Linked DNA regions of Homo sapiens: regions 1 and 2 are each linked to region 3. Evidence: promoter capture Hi-C in 16 types of primary human blood cells and fetal thymus (Javierre and others, 2016). All regions are on one chromosome and are shown on one strand. Each heading gives the region's core, a stretch centred on a gene start or on the middle of the fragment in contact. The rest is flanking DNA. Distances are from core to core; before and after follow the strand shown.

Region 1 (3,753 bases), core at 66-2,565, 470 kb before region 3:
TTATCCTTTGCAGGAAACATCATGATTTTCGGCATCACATTTTCAATAGCACAAATTAAATAATTATCAATTAAAAAATAGTAACAATAGACCTAAGAGGTGTAATCTTTATATCACAAAACTGTCTTCAAAATCATCTTGCCTAACTACTCCCCAATCTTTCTGGCACCAAGAAGGACTGGTTTCGTGGAAGACAATTTTTCCACAGACCAGGGTTTGGGGAGAGGGTTTGGGGATGATTCAAGCACATTACACTTATTGTGCACTTTATTTCTATTATTATTACATTATAATATATAATGAAATAATTATACAACTCACCATAATGTAAAATCAGCAGGATCCCTGAGCTGGTTTTCCTGCAACTTGATGGTCCCATCTAGGACATGGGAGACAGTGACAGATCTTCAGGCATTGGATTCTCCTAAGGAGCATGCAATCTAGGTCCCTTGTATGCACAGTTCACAATAGGGTTCATGCTCCTATGAGAATCTAATGCTGCCGCTGATCTGACAGGAGGCAGAGCTCAGGTGGTAATGCGAGTGATGGGGAGCGGCTGTAAATACAGACGGAAGCTTCGCTTGCTCTCCAGCAGCTCACCTCTTGGTGTGCGGCCTGGTTCCTTAGGACCGGTACTGGTCTGTGGTCTGGGGATTGGGGACCCCTGTTGCCTAAGTATTTCCCTTGAAGTTTCATTATTTGTTATAGATGTTGTCTGTAACATGTCTCTATGCAAAAATAATATTCTCTTGGATTTTGTAAATTATATTTTTCTTATTTCACTTTGGCTTTTTTGGTTTAGCTCTCTTTGTAATGCTTATACAAGTACTGCATTCAGCCATGATTATGAAAAAAATGCCAAATCATATCTCCCTTACTATATATAAGAAACCCTCTGGAGATGTGTTCTTGACTTCAGCTTTTAAATGACCTTTTGTTTTATTTGGTAGTTCCCACCATCTCCAAGTTCCCATCCCATGCTAAATAAGTAGGATTCTAGGAATTTACCCTGGGCACACTATTTTACCCTGGAGGACAAAACTATTTTTCTTATGTCTTAAACTGTACATATTTAAAGTGTACAATCTAATAAGTTTTAACATATGTTAAATTCTTGAATCCACTGCTACAGTCAAAATAATGATTTGCCACTATCAAAAGTCTTCTCAAGCCCTTCTTCCTTCTCCTCTCACCATCAACAATTGCCCTCCTCAGGCAATCAGTAATCCACTGCCACTATAGTTTGTACTTTCTAGAATTTTATATAAATGAAATCATACAATATACCCTCTTCATTTGACTTTAGCTAAGAATAATTATTTTGAGGTTCTTCCATGTTGTGTGTGTGTGTGTGTCATTAGTTCCAAAACTATTTTTGAATGGAGCAGCTACTAAATAATTTCAATTTCAAATTTTTTTCTTCCTGGACAATTATGTTGGGGACAGAACAGTATAAATAATACACCCCTGGAGGACCTTGGCCTACAAATGAATTCCTCAAATAGTTTTCAATTAGGGTTTCAAATGCTGTATCTCCTACCCTCCCCGCTTAGGCCTAGCAATCATTTATAAGTTAGGCCCAATGATCATTTATAAGTTAGGCCCAATTGCTTCTAATCATCAAACCAACTTCTAGTTATGGAAAATTTACCATTTAAGTAGGCAGTTCACAAATGATTTTACATCAGTCTACTTCTGGCTGAACACTACATCAGAGTTTCCTCATGACGCTCGGTCTCAGTTGAAACTACCTTCCCTCTCCCTAGGGTCTCTGAGCACCACATCAGTATTATCTTAGCCCAGGGAAGGTAGGAAGTAAGAAAAGAAAAAAAAGCAGATCATGACAAGAAAAGAAAAAGAAAGCAGATCATAAATGTGAACTTCTTATATGGCTGATGAGTAAAGCTGAAAATTCCAAAAGTTATCAATATTTCTGATCAGCTAGCTATCTTGGAGGGTATCATTTATATCAAGAACACAGGAGTGTTATTGACAAATTTTATAAATCATGTGCCTAGCCTATTTTTTTAATTATATGATAAAAGAAAAAGCTTTATGAACTAAAGTCTGCAAGCATAATTATGCAAAACCTGTACACAATCCAAGGTATTGTTAGTTTTCCATGAGCGTGAGATCTCTCACATCATAAAACCAAAGCACAGAAACAGATCAAATCATGGAAATCCATGTTTGTGTTCTAGTTCACACATGTTAAAAGAAGATTATTTCTTAAATAATGACAAGAGTACAGAGTAACAAAATAGTGTTGACCACACAGGAACAGAAAACCAAACAACGCATGTTCTCACTCATAAGTGGGAGTTGAACAAGGAGAACACATGGACACAGGGAGGGGAACATCACACACTGGAGCCCGTCTGGGGGTGGGGAGCTAGGGGAGGGATAGCATTAGGAGCAATACCTAATGTAGATGATGGGTGCAGCAAACTACCAGGGCACATGTGTATCAATGTAACAAACCTGCAAGTTCTGCACATGTATCCAAGAACTTAAAGTATAATTAAAAAAGAAAGAAAAAAAATTTGCTTTTTTACAAGCTACAAAAACATTTGCTCTGAGGCTTCGTATGGACATTAAAGCTTAACTGTGTTTAAAAAAAAAAAATAGTGTTGACCAGAGGGCAGTCTGAGTAGAGACATTCTGTTTTCAAACAAGTAAAGAATATCAATCTGCTCTCGAACACTTATGTTTTATAAAAGAGACTTACCACAAATCCTTCTGCCCAAGTTTATCAAAATGCTACTGACAAGGAGACCTAAGCATTTTCCCATGGGATTATCAACTTTCCCCAAGAGAGCCTTTTAAATTCTAGGCTCTAAATGCCTATGGCCTAGCGAAGTGTAACCATTGTAACATTGCACCACAGTGCAGTACTTATATGCTTGTGATGATGCTGATGTAAACAAACTTACTGCACTGCCAGTCATATAAAAGCATGCTATACAATAATGTTTAATAATGATAATATAAATCTGTTACTGGTTTATATATTTGCTATACTACACTTAATTTTTTTAGTTTTAGAGTACACTCATCCTAATTAGAAAAAAGAAATGTTAACTGTAAAATAGCCTCAGGCAGGTCCTTAAGGAGGTATTCCAGAAGAAGGCATTGCTATCATAGGAGATGACAGCTCCATACATTACCCCTGAAGAGCTTCCAGTGGGACAAGATGTGGAGGTGGAAGAAGACAGTGATACTGATGATCCTGACACTGTGTAAGCCTAGGGTAACGTGTTTGTGTCTTGGTTTTCAACAAAAAAAGTTTAAAAAGTAAAAATAAATAAATAATAAAAATAGGAATAAGGTTACAGAATAAGAGCATAAAGAAATATTTTTGTTCAGCTGTGCAATGTGTTTGTGTTTAAATGTAAGTGTTATCACAAGTTTTTTAAAAAGTTTATAAAGTAAAAAAGTCACAGTAAGCTAATTTATTATTGAAGAAAAATATTTTTCATAAATGTAGTGTACCCTAAGTATACAGTGTTTATAAAAACTACAGTAGTGTACAGTAACATCACAGGCCTTCACATTCACTCACAAGTCACCACTGACTCACCAAGAAAAACTTCCAGTCCTGCAAATTCCATTCATGCTAAGTGCCCATAAAGGATTACTATTTTTATACTGTACTTCTACTGTACTTTTCTATGCTTATATTTGTTTAGATACACTAATACCATTGTGTGTACAACTGTGTACAGTATGCAGTACAATAACATGCTGTACAGA
Region 2 (4,249 bases), core at 89-2,588, 330 kb after region 3:
AAATGCTAAAGTCCTTCAAGTTGAAACAAAAGGATACCAAACAGTAACATGAAAGCATATGAAAGTACAAAGCTTGCTGGTAAAGGTAAATATATAGAAAAACACAGAATACTGTAATATTATAATGGCAGTGTGTAAATAACTTTTAATTCTGGTTATAGAAGTTAAAAGACAAAAATGTGAAAAATAAGTCATATATCACTTAACAATGGGGAAATGTTATGAGAAATACATTGCTAGATGATTTTTTCATTGTGCAAACATTTTTGAATATATGTACACAAACCTAGATAGTATAGCCTACTACACACCTAGGCTATATGGTATAACCTATTGCTTGTAGGTTGCAAACCTATACAGCACGTTAGTGTACTGAATACTGTAGACAATTGTAACACAATGGTAAATATTTGTGTATGTAAACATAGAAAAGGTGCAGTGAAATAGGATATAAAAGATTTGAAATGGTACACCTATGTAGAACATTTACTGTGAATGAAGCTTGCAGGACTGGAAATTGCTCCAGATGAGCCAGCGAGTGAGTGGTGAGCGAATGTAAAGACCTAGGACATTACTGCACACTACTGCACACTTTATAAACACTATGCACTTAGACCACACTAAGTTTATTTTTTTTAATTTTCTTTCTTCAATAATAAATTAACTTGAGTTTACTGTAATTTTTTTACTTTGTAAACATTTAAATTATTTTAATCTTTTGACTTTTTTGTAATAACACTTAGCTTAAAATATAGGTTATAGAGCTGTACAAAAATATCTTCTTTCTTTATATCCTTATTCTATATGGTTTTTCCTATTTTAAAATTTTTTATTTCTATTTTTTACTTTTAAACTTTTTTGTTATTGTTAAAAATAGAGACAGAAACACAGACATTAGGCTAGCACTAGACAGGGGCAGGATCATCAATATCACTGTCTTCTATCTCCACATATTGTTCCACAGTCTTTAAGGAGCAATAACTTGCATGGAGTTGTCATCTCCTATGATAACAATGCCTTATTCTAGAATATCTCCTAAAGGACCTGCTTGAGTCTCTTGAGAAAGTGTCACTATTTTCAGAAATATGACCTTGGCGGTTTGCTTGCTTTGTTTCTTTTTTCATCATAGATTTGCTCGTACGCAGATAATGCAACATGAGCATTCTTTTCTATTAATGAAAACCTTTTGGTGTTGGGGATCCATGTTTTTAGTCTTTTCAAGAAGCTTGTTAAGGTCTGAAAAAGCTTCTGCTAAACTCTTTATTGTTAATTTTTTGGGGGGTTCTTCTTCTTTTTCTTTGCCTGCACTTTCCTTTCCTTTTGCCTCCTCTTCAGCTATGCCTTCCTGTTTCAGTTCCAACAACTCATTAGTCAATTCTTCAGGACAATTGCATTAGGCAATAGGAATTTTTCAGCTTCATTATAAGCTTATGGGATCACCATTGTATATGCAGTCTGTTGTTAACCAAAATGTTATTATGCAACAATAACTATGTAACTATAAAATATGTTAATGAATACACAAAATTTAAAAATGTAATTGGTGACATCAATAACATAAAATTGTGTGTGGAGAAATAACAGTGTAGAGTATTTGTATGTGATTGAAGTTAAGGTGTTATCAGTTTAAAAGAGATTGTTATAGCTATGTTTTATGCGAGCCCCATGGTAATCACAAAGAAAATACTTCTAGAAGATACACAAAACAAAATGATAAAGGAATTAAAGCCTATTCACTATGAAAAATTAATGAAACACAAAGGAAGACAGCAAGAAAGGAGAAACAGGACCAAAAAAAGCTTTAAGACAGAAAACAATAGAATGGTAATAGTTCTTCTCTAGTATTAACTACTTTAAATGTAAATATATTAAATTCTGTAATCAAAAAGCATAGAGTGGCTGAATTGATTAAAAAAAAACAAGCTCCAACTACATGCTATCTATAAGAAACTCACTTTATTTTATTTATTTATTTTTTTGAGACGGAGTCTCGCTCTATTGCCCAGGCTGGAGTGCAGTGGCACAATCTCAGCTCACTACAACCTCCGCCTCCTGGGTTCAAGTGATTCTTCTGCCTCAGCCTCCCAAGTAGCTGGGACCACAGGGGTGCGCCACCATGCCCAGCTAATTTATATATTTTTAGTGGAGACGAGGTTTCACCATGTCCGCCAGTCTGGTCTCAAACTCCTGACCTCAGGTAATCCACCTGCTTGGCCTCCCAAAGTGTTGGGATTATAGGCGTGAGCCACCACGCCTGGCAAGGACTCACTTTAGATTTAAGGACACACGTAGGTTGAAAGTGAAAGTTTAGAAAAAGATATTCCATGAAAATGATAACCAAAAAATGGCAGGAGTGGCCATACTTATATCGGACAAAATAAACTTTAAGTCAAAATATCAAAAGAGACAAAGAAGGACATGATATAATGATAAAAGGATCAATTCTTCAGGAAGATATAATAATTATAAATATATATGCACATCAGGGTACCCAAATATATGAAGCAAACATTGACAGAACTAAAGGGGGAAATAGACAGCAAAACAATAATAGTAGGGGATTTTAATGCTCCACTTTCAATAATGGATAGAACACCAGACAGATCAATGAGGAAAAAAAGAACTTGAACAACACTATGGACCAAGTGGATCTAACATACATATACAGAACATTCCATCCAACAGCAACAGAATACATATTCTTCTCAAGTGCACACAAAACATTCTCCAGAATAGATTATGTTAGATAACAAGACAAGTCTTGACAAATTTAAGAGGCTGACATCATAACAAGTATCAGTGGAATGAAACTAGAGGCAGAAGGAAAACTGGTATTTCCACAGGCAACAAAAGGGACACTAGAGAAGTGGCATTACATTAAACTAAAAAGCTTCTGCACAGCAAAGAAAACAATCAGCTTAGTGAAAAGGCAACCTACAGAATGAGAGAAACTATTTACAAACAATGTATCTGATAAGGAGTTAATATCCAAAATATATAAGGAACGCCTACAACTCTATAGCAAAAAAATAAAAGCAACCAATGAAAACATAGGCAAAGGACTTGAATGAATAGAGATTTCTCCAAAAAGACCAAAAAATGACCAACGGGTATATGAAAACATGCTCAATCAACATCATTAATCATCAGGAAAATGCAAATCAAAACCACAGTGAGATAATACCTCACACTTGTTAAGATGGCCATTATTTTTTTAAAAAGAGGAAGAAAATAACAGGTGTTCGCAAGGATATGAAGAATTGGTGCCCTCGTGCACTATTGGTGGGTGTGTAAAATTGTACAGCCTCTATGGAACACAGTTTGGAGGTTTCTCGAAAAATTAAAAATAAAACTACCATATGATCTAGCAACCTCACTTCTGGGTAATTATCCAAAAGAACTGAAAGCAGGATCTTGAAAAGATGTTTGCACTCCCATGTTTATTGCAGCATTATTCACAATAGTCAAGAGGTGAAAACTAAGATCCACTAAACAATAAATGGATAAAGGAAATATGATAATATCCATATAGTGGAACACCATAGAACAACCATAGAAAAGAGGGAAATCCTGTCCTATGCTACAGTGTTCTCAAGGAAATGGGTAGTTGCTGTTTGATGGGTATAAAGTTTCAGTCATGCAAGATGAAAAAGTTCCAGAGATCTGCTGTATAACGTTGTACTTAACAGTTAACAATACTGTACTGTACACTTAAAAATCTGTTAAGTGTATAGTACAGTATTAACTGTTACATAACAGATGTATATATATATATATATATACACACACACACACACACACACATACATACATATGTAACAGATCTCATGTTATATGTTTCTTACCACAGTGAAAAATCTTGTGTGGGTGAAGTTACAAACACAAGTGTCTGCAGGACTAGGCCAGTACTGTAAGTGAATAAAGCTGGGCAGGGGATAGAGCGAGCATAAGGTACAGTGGGCTGTGTTAAAAAAGGCACATACCCTGTGTAAGGGGGCAGTCACCACTCAGCTCCAACCAAACGCTGTCATGCAGAGCAGAGGCCCAGTGGGACCAGATTTTATTTTTTTCAAATAAGTCATAAAACCAGAGTTTTATAGGAACTCTCCTTATTTTTAATTCAAAATAGTTGAAACTCTCTGTGCGTAACCTCCCCTCCCTATCCTAGCCCCTAGCAAACTAAAGCATACGGGGCATTCAGCCAGAGTGGCCTGCTTACAATCTCTGTACTTGAAAGATTAATTTCACA
Region 3 (3,797 bases), core at 476-2,975:
TAGTCTACCTTACTATCGAGTCTCTTTCCCTAGCAAGAAAATGTCAGTCTTAAGAGTCAGGAAAGCTTTTACTTTCACTATCACATATGAAGAATGAACTAAACACCTAAATTGGATAGGAAAACTTAAATGAGGGATTCAGGACACTTCCCAAGGGGTCATATGACCAATTTAAAAGTTGGTATGATGTGTCTAAAATAACAAATTAACTCTTTTACTTATAATAAAGGTACAGATGTGCTGATTAGTCATGCTAACATGTACATATGAAATATGCCTAAACCAAATTAAAAGAAAACAAAATACAGTCTATGGCAATCTTGAAAATTCAGGGAGCTCAATAAATATTAAGAGGATGCTCTCACAATGAGAGCATTAAACACTTGGTAATTAACATAATTTAATATGCAAAAATAAGAAAATATACAGGATGAGGGATGAGGAGTACACATAGGAAATTTTTGTGATTTTCTTCATTTTGATTGTATTGCTTTCTTGTCTTCAGGAGGGAAGATTTTGACTTCAAAAGTAACAAAATATTTAAGAAGGGAATTCACATCTTTCTGTTCTAAATGATATTCTTGCGCTATTTTCTCAGCAGTTCATGTTTCTGGATAAAGTTTATGATTATTGAAAAGTGTCAATGCTTCTACAGTGGAAATTTTGCCTTTGGGAATGCTCTTAATATTTATCATATCAAAGTGATGGCCTTTCGGCAATCTGAATTTCTTTGGCTCCTGACGTGTTTCAGCAGCTTTCAGCTGCACGGAAGACACAGGATCTTTGGAATCAACACACACATATTTTAGAAATGACAGCAGCTTGTCATCTTTACGAGCAATCTCTCCCTTAATTTCTGGATAGAGACTAATCTGCTCTGGCAGGAGGCTGCTGGTAGAGGGGTGCCTGGGAGCGAGAGAGGGCTTCATGTTGCGGATTTCCCTTTCCGCTCGGTTCTCTTGAAATTCCTGATCCCGCGAGTCACCGCAGCCCCCATCTCCTTACAACATGATGCCCTCAGGTTCACAGTAATGTATTTTTTAAAAACCAGTCGTTGTTACCTTAATTTGGTCCCAAGGGCTGTAAAGGTCAGTTTACAACTCGTTGAACAACTGAGTAAGATTTAAGGCAACTCAACTGATAGCTGCATACCTAATTTAGGATATCCATAGAATTGTTTTGTCAACTACAAATATAACAAGCATTAAGTGTAAACTGTGTTGCTGAAAAGTACTCCAAGTATCTTAGGAACACCCACCGCAATGTGTGGGCTAAATGCACACGTACAATGATAGCAGAAATAATACCTGTCATATAGGACGGGCATGTCAGCCTTTTCTCCGCGAAAGGCTTCTGGTCCTAAGCTGTCCCTTACTTTCACCGGAATGAGATGCGTCCAGAGTCCCAAGCAAGGGAGGAGACTGCTCCTTTACCCAGGAGGCTGGAAACTGCTCGATGCGAGCGCAGTTTCCGACGCCCTTCGGCTGAGACCTGCAGCACCGGACGATGTCCCAGTTGCCAGCTTTAGTTGCTAAGGCACCAACCACTTCGGAGGAAACGGGGGGTGGTGCAGTCTCTTTTGGAGTCGTAGCGAATCAGCTACAAGTCGAGATAATTAGTTCCGGCAGGAAACAGCTCCTCTAAGAGGGACTGGAAGGCGGAAAGAAGCTGAGAGTGACGCCTCTGAGCCGCGGAGGATTGTGGGAGGAGGTTGTCTCCAATTTCTCCTCCCCCTCCCGGCCAAGATGTCTGACATGGAGGATGATTTCATGTGCGATGATGAGGAGGACTACGACCTGGTGAGGCGCAGGGAATGGAACTCTGAGGGTGGTGATGTGTCTTGTTTTCGGGGTCCGGGCCGGGGCGCCCGCGGCCTCTCCCCGTAGAGCATGTGCCGTTTACAGCCTCTCTCAGTGCGGTGACAGGACTGGTTTACCTCCTCCCCGTTCCCGCACCGGGCCCGGGCCCTGCTTCTCCAGCATGGGGGAAGGGAGGGCAAAGGAGGCAGCGAAGGGGGCCCCGGGCCTTGCCCTCCGAGTCTGAGCGCCTCTTCGGTTTACACGGATGCCCCTGGTCCCAGGCGTTCGGTTCTCTGTCTTCTGCCTCCCCACCGCGCTAGCCGCCTCGGTGACCATGCTGCGGTGTAGGCCCTGGCTTTGCCCTTTCGGGCCCAGCGTTCCGGGCCCCCACTTCTTCACACTGGAACTGAGCGGGTGCGAAATGCTAGGAGAAGTCAGAAAACGGGGGTGTCCTTACTGCTCCCAGGCCTGACTGCGAAACGCAACTTGTGAGTCTCCTGGAGACATAGCTTAAATAGTCTTGCCAGGGCCAGTTTTGGTCCGAGGTAAGTGTGTAGGGGAGAGTTCAGAGCAAAGATAACTGAAAAAAAGGTAGTCGAACCACTTTTTCAGTTCTTTATAAAGAAAAGCTGGGGAGGAGGTTTTGCTTGTGGTGTTTTTGGAGGACGGGTGAAAGATAATTGAACCCATGGCTTTTCCCTTAGAAATTTCCCAGTATACAAAGTTTAAAACAGCAACAGCATAGAAATAAACGAATTTTTCTGACCGAATGGAGATTTTTAAAGATTCAAAGCTTCATTTATTAATGGATTTGCAAGTTTGAATAACGTTTGCTATTCAAAAACATCGTGTGGAAACTCAGAAAATTATCTTGATCCAGAATTAACGTCAATTTTGCTGTGTTTCTTTATTTTGGGGGTGTTTCATATGGTTCTTTTATGGTGATGCTGCATTATCATAAAGTTACGAAATAGATGTTTTGGGACGTCTGACTCATTTTAAGTGCCAGAGATTGTCAAAATATTAATACATTGTTTTGAATTAGTCTATAACTTTTTCGTATATATTTTCAGTTTTTTGCATTTTAAAATAAGGCACACTTTGCAAAAGGGAGAAAGGAAATTCTCGCTATTATTTGAAAGTCATAGTAGAGATTTTTATAATTTTTAAAGTTAAATGTAGTTTCGCTAATAGTTATGGTTTCTACCTTACATTTTAGTTTGTGCAAGCCAGTTGTAGGCAGTGACTTCAGTTCATTAAGAATATGTATCTGTCCATTTTTACTTATTACCTGTTTATTTATATTACAGGTGTTTTGTTATCAAAATGTTTCTTTTATATGTGCTTGTATTTTTTTAATTGATTCATAGTATTTTGTACATATTTATGGGGGGTTTCGTTACATGCACAGGATATGTAGTGATCAAGTCGGTATTTAGGATATCCATCACCTTGTGTTTTTATCATTTCTGTGTCTAGGGAATATTTAAAGTCATCTCTTCTAGATATTTTGAAATATAAAATACGTTTTAACCATAGTCACCCTGCTCCGCTGTCAAACATTAGAACTTACTCCTTCTATCTAACTGTTGGTTTGTACATACCATTAACCAACTTCTCTTACTTCCCCACTCCTCTTCCCCCCACAACACCCTTCCTATCATTCTACTCTCTACCACCGTGAAATCAACTTCTTTTGCTCCCAGATCTGAGTGAGAACATGTGATATTTGTCTTTCTGTGCCTGGCTTATTTCACTTAACCTAATTCTCCAGATCCATGTTGCTGCAAACTGACAGAATTTCATTCTTTTTTATAGTCAAATAATATTCCATTATGTATATATACCACATTTTCTTCATCCGTTTATCCATTGATGGACACTTAGGTTGATTCCCTGTCTTTGCTGTTATGAATAATGCTGCAATGAACATGGAGTGCAGGTATTCCTTTAATAGACCGATTTTCTTTCCTTTGGATAAACCCAGGAGTGGATTGC

Evidence for each region. The method cuts DNA at HindIII sites, captures the fragments that hold promoters and counts their contacts. A CHiCAGO score of 5 or more calls a contact.
Region 1: a fragment that was not itself captured here is called in contact with the fragment with the promoter of COPS2 in region 3 in 1 of 17 cell types (naive CD4 T cells); the score reaches 5.2 in naive CD4 T cells.
Region 2: a contact is called between a fragment that was not itself captured here and the fragment with the promoter of COPS2 in region 3, in 1 of 17 cell types (naive CD4 T cells). The highest score is 6.1, in naive CD4 T cells.

The regions. Positions count from the first base shown.
Region 1 is chr15:49,627,627-49,631,379 of GRCh38, reverse strand. All of the region lies in intron 2 of DTWD1 (DTW motif tRNA-uridine aminocarboxypropyltransferase 1), which reads right to left. Among named protein-coding and RNA genes, the nearest start is that of DTWD1, 8.5 kb to the right of the region's middle. The HindIII fragment of the contact is 1,476 bases long and covers 578-2,053 here.
Region 2 is chr15:48,827,649-48,831,897 of GRCh38, reverse strand. All of the region lies in intron 11 of SHC4 (SHC adaptor protein 4), which reads left to right. Among named protein-coding and RNA genes, the nearest start is that of CEP152, 19 kb to the right of the region's middle. The HindIII fragment of the contact is 182 bases long and covers 1,248-1,429 here.
Region 3 is chr15:49,153,527-49,157,323 of GRCh38, reverse strand. It overlaps COPS2 (COP9 signalosome subunit 2), which reads left to right and starts at 1,725. Exons shown (of 13, transcript NM_004236.4): 1 at 1,725-1,799. The coding sequence starts at 1,746. It also overlaps a transcript of GALK2 not described here and the pseudogene NDUFAF4P1. RefSeq lists enhancers at 773-1,691, 1,450-1,979. The HindIII fragment of the contact is 2,527 bases long and covers 68-2,594 here.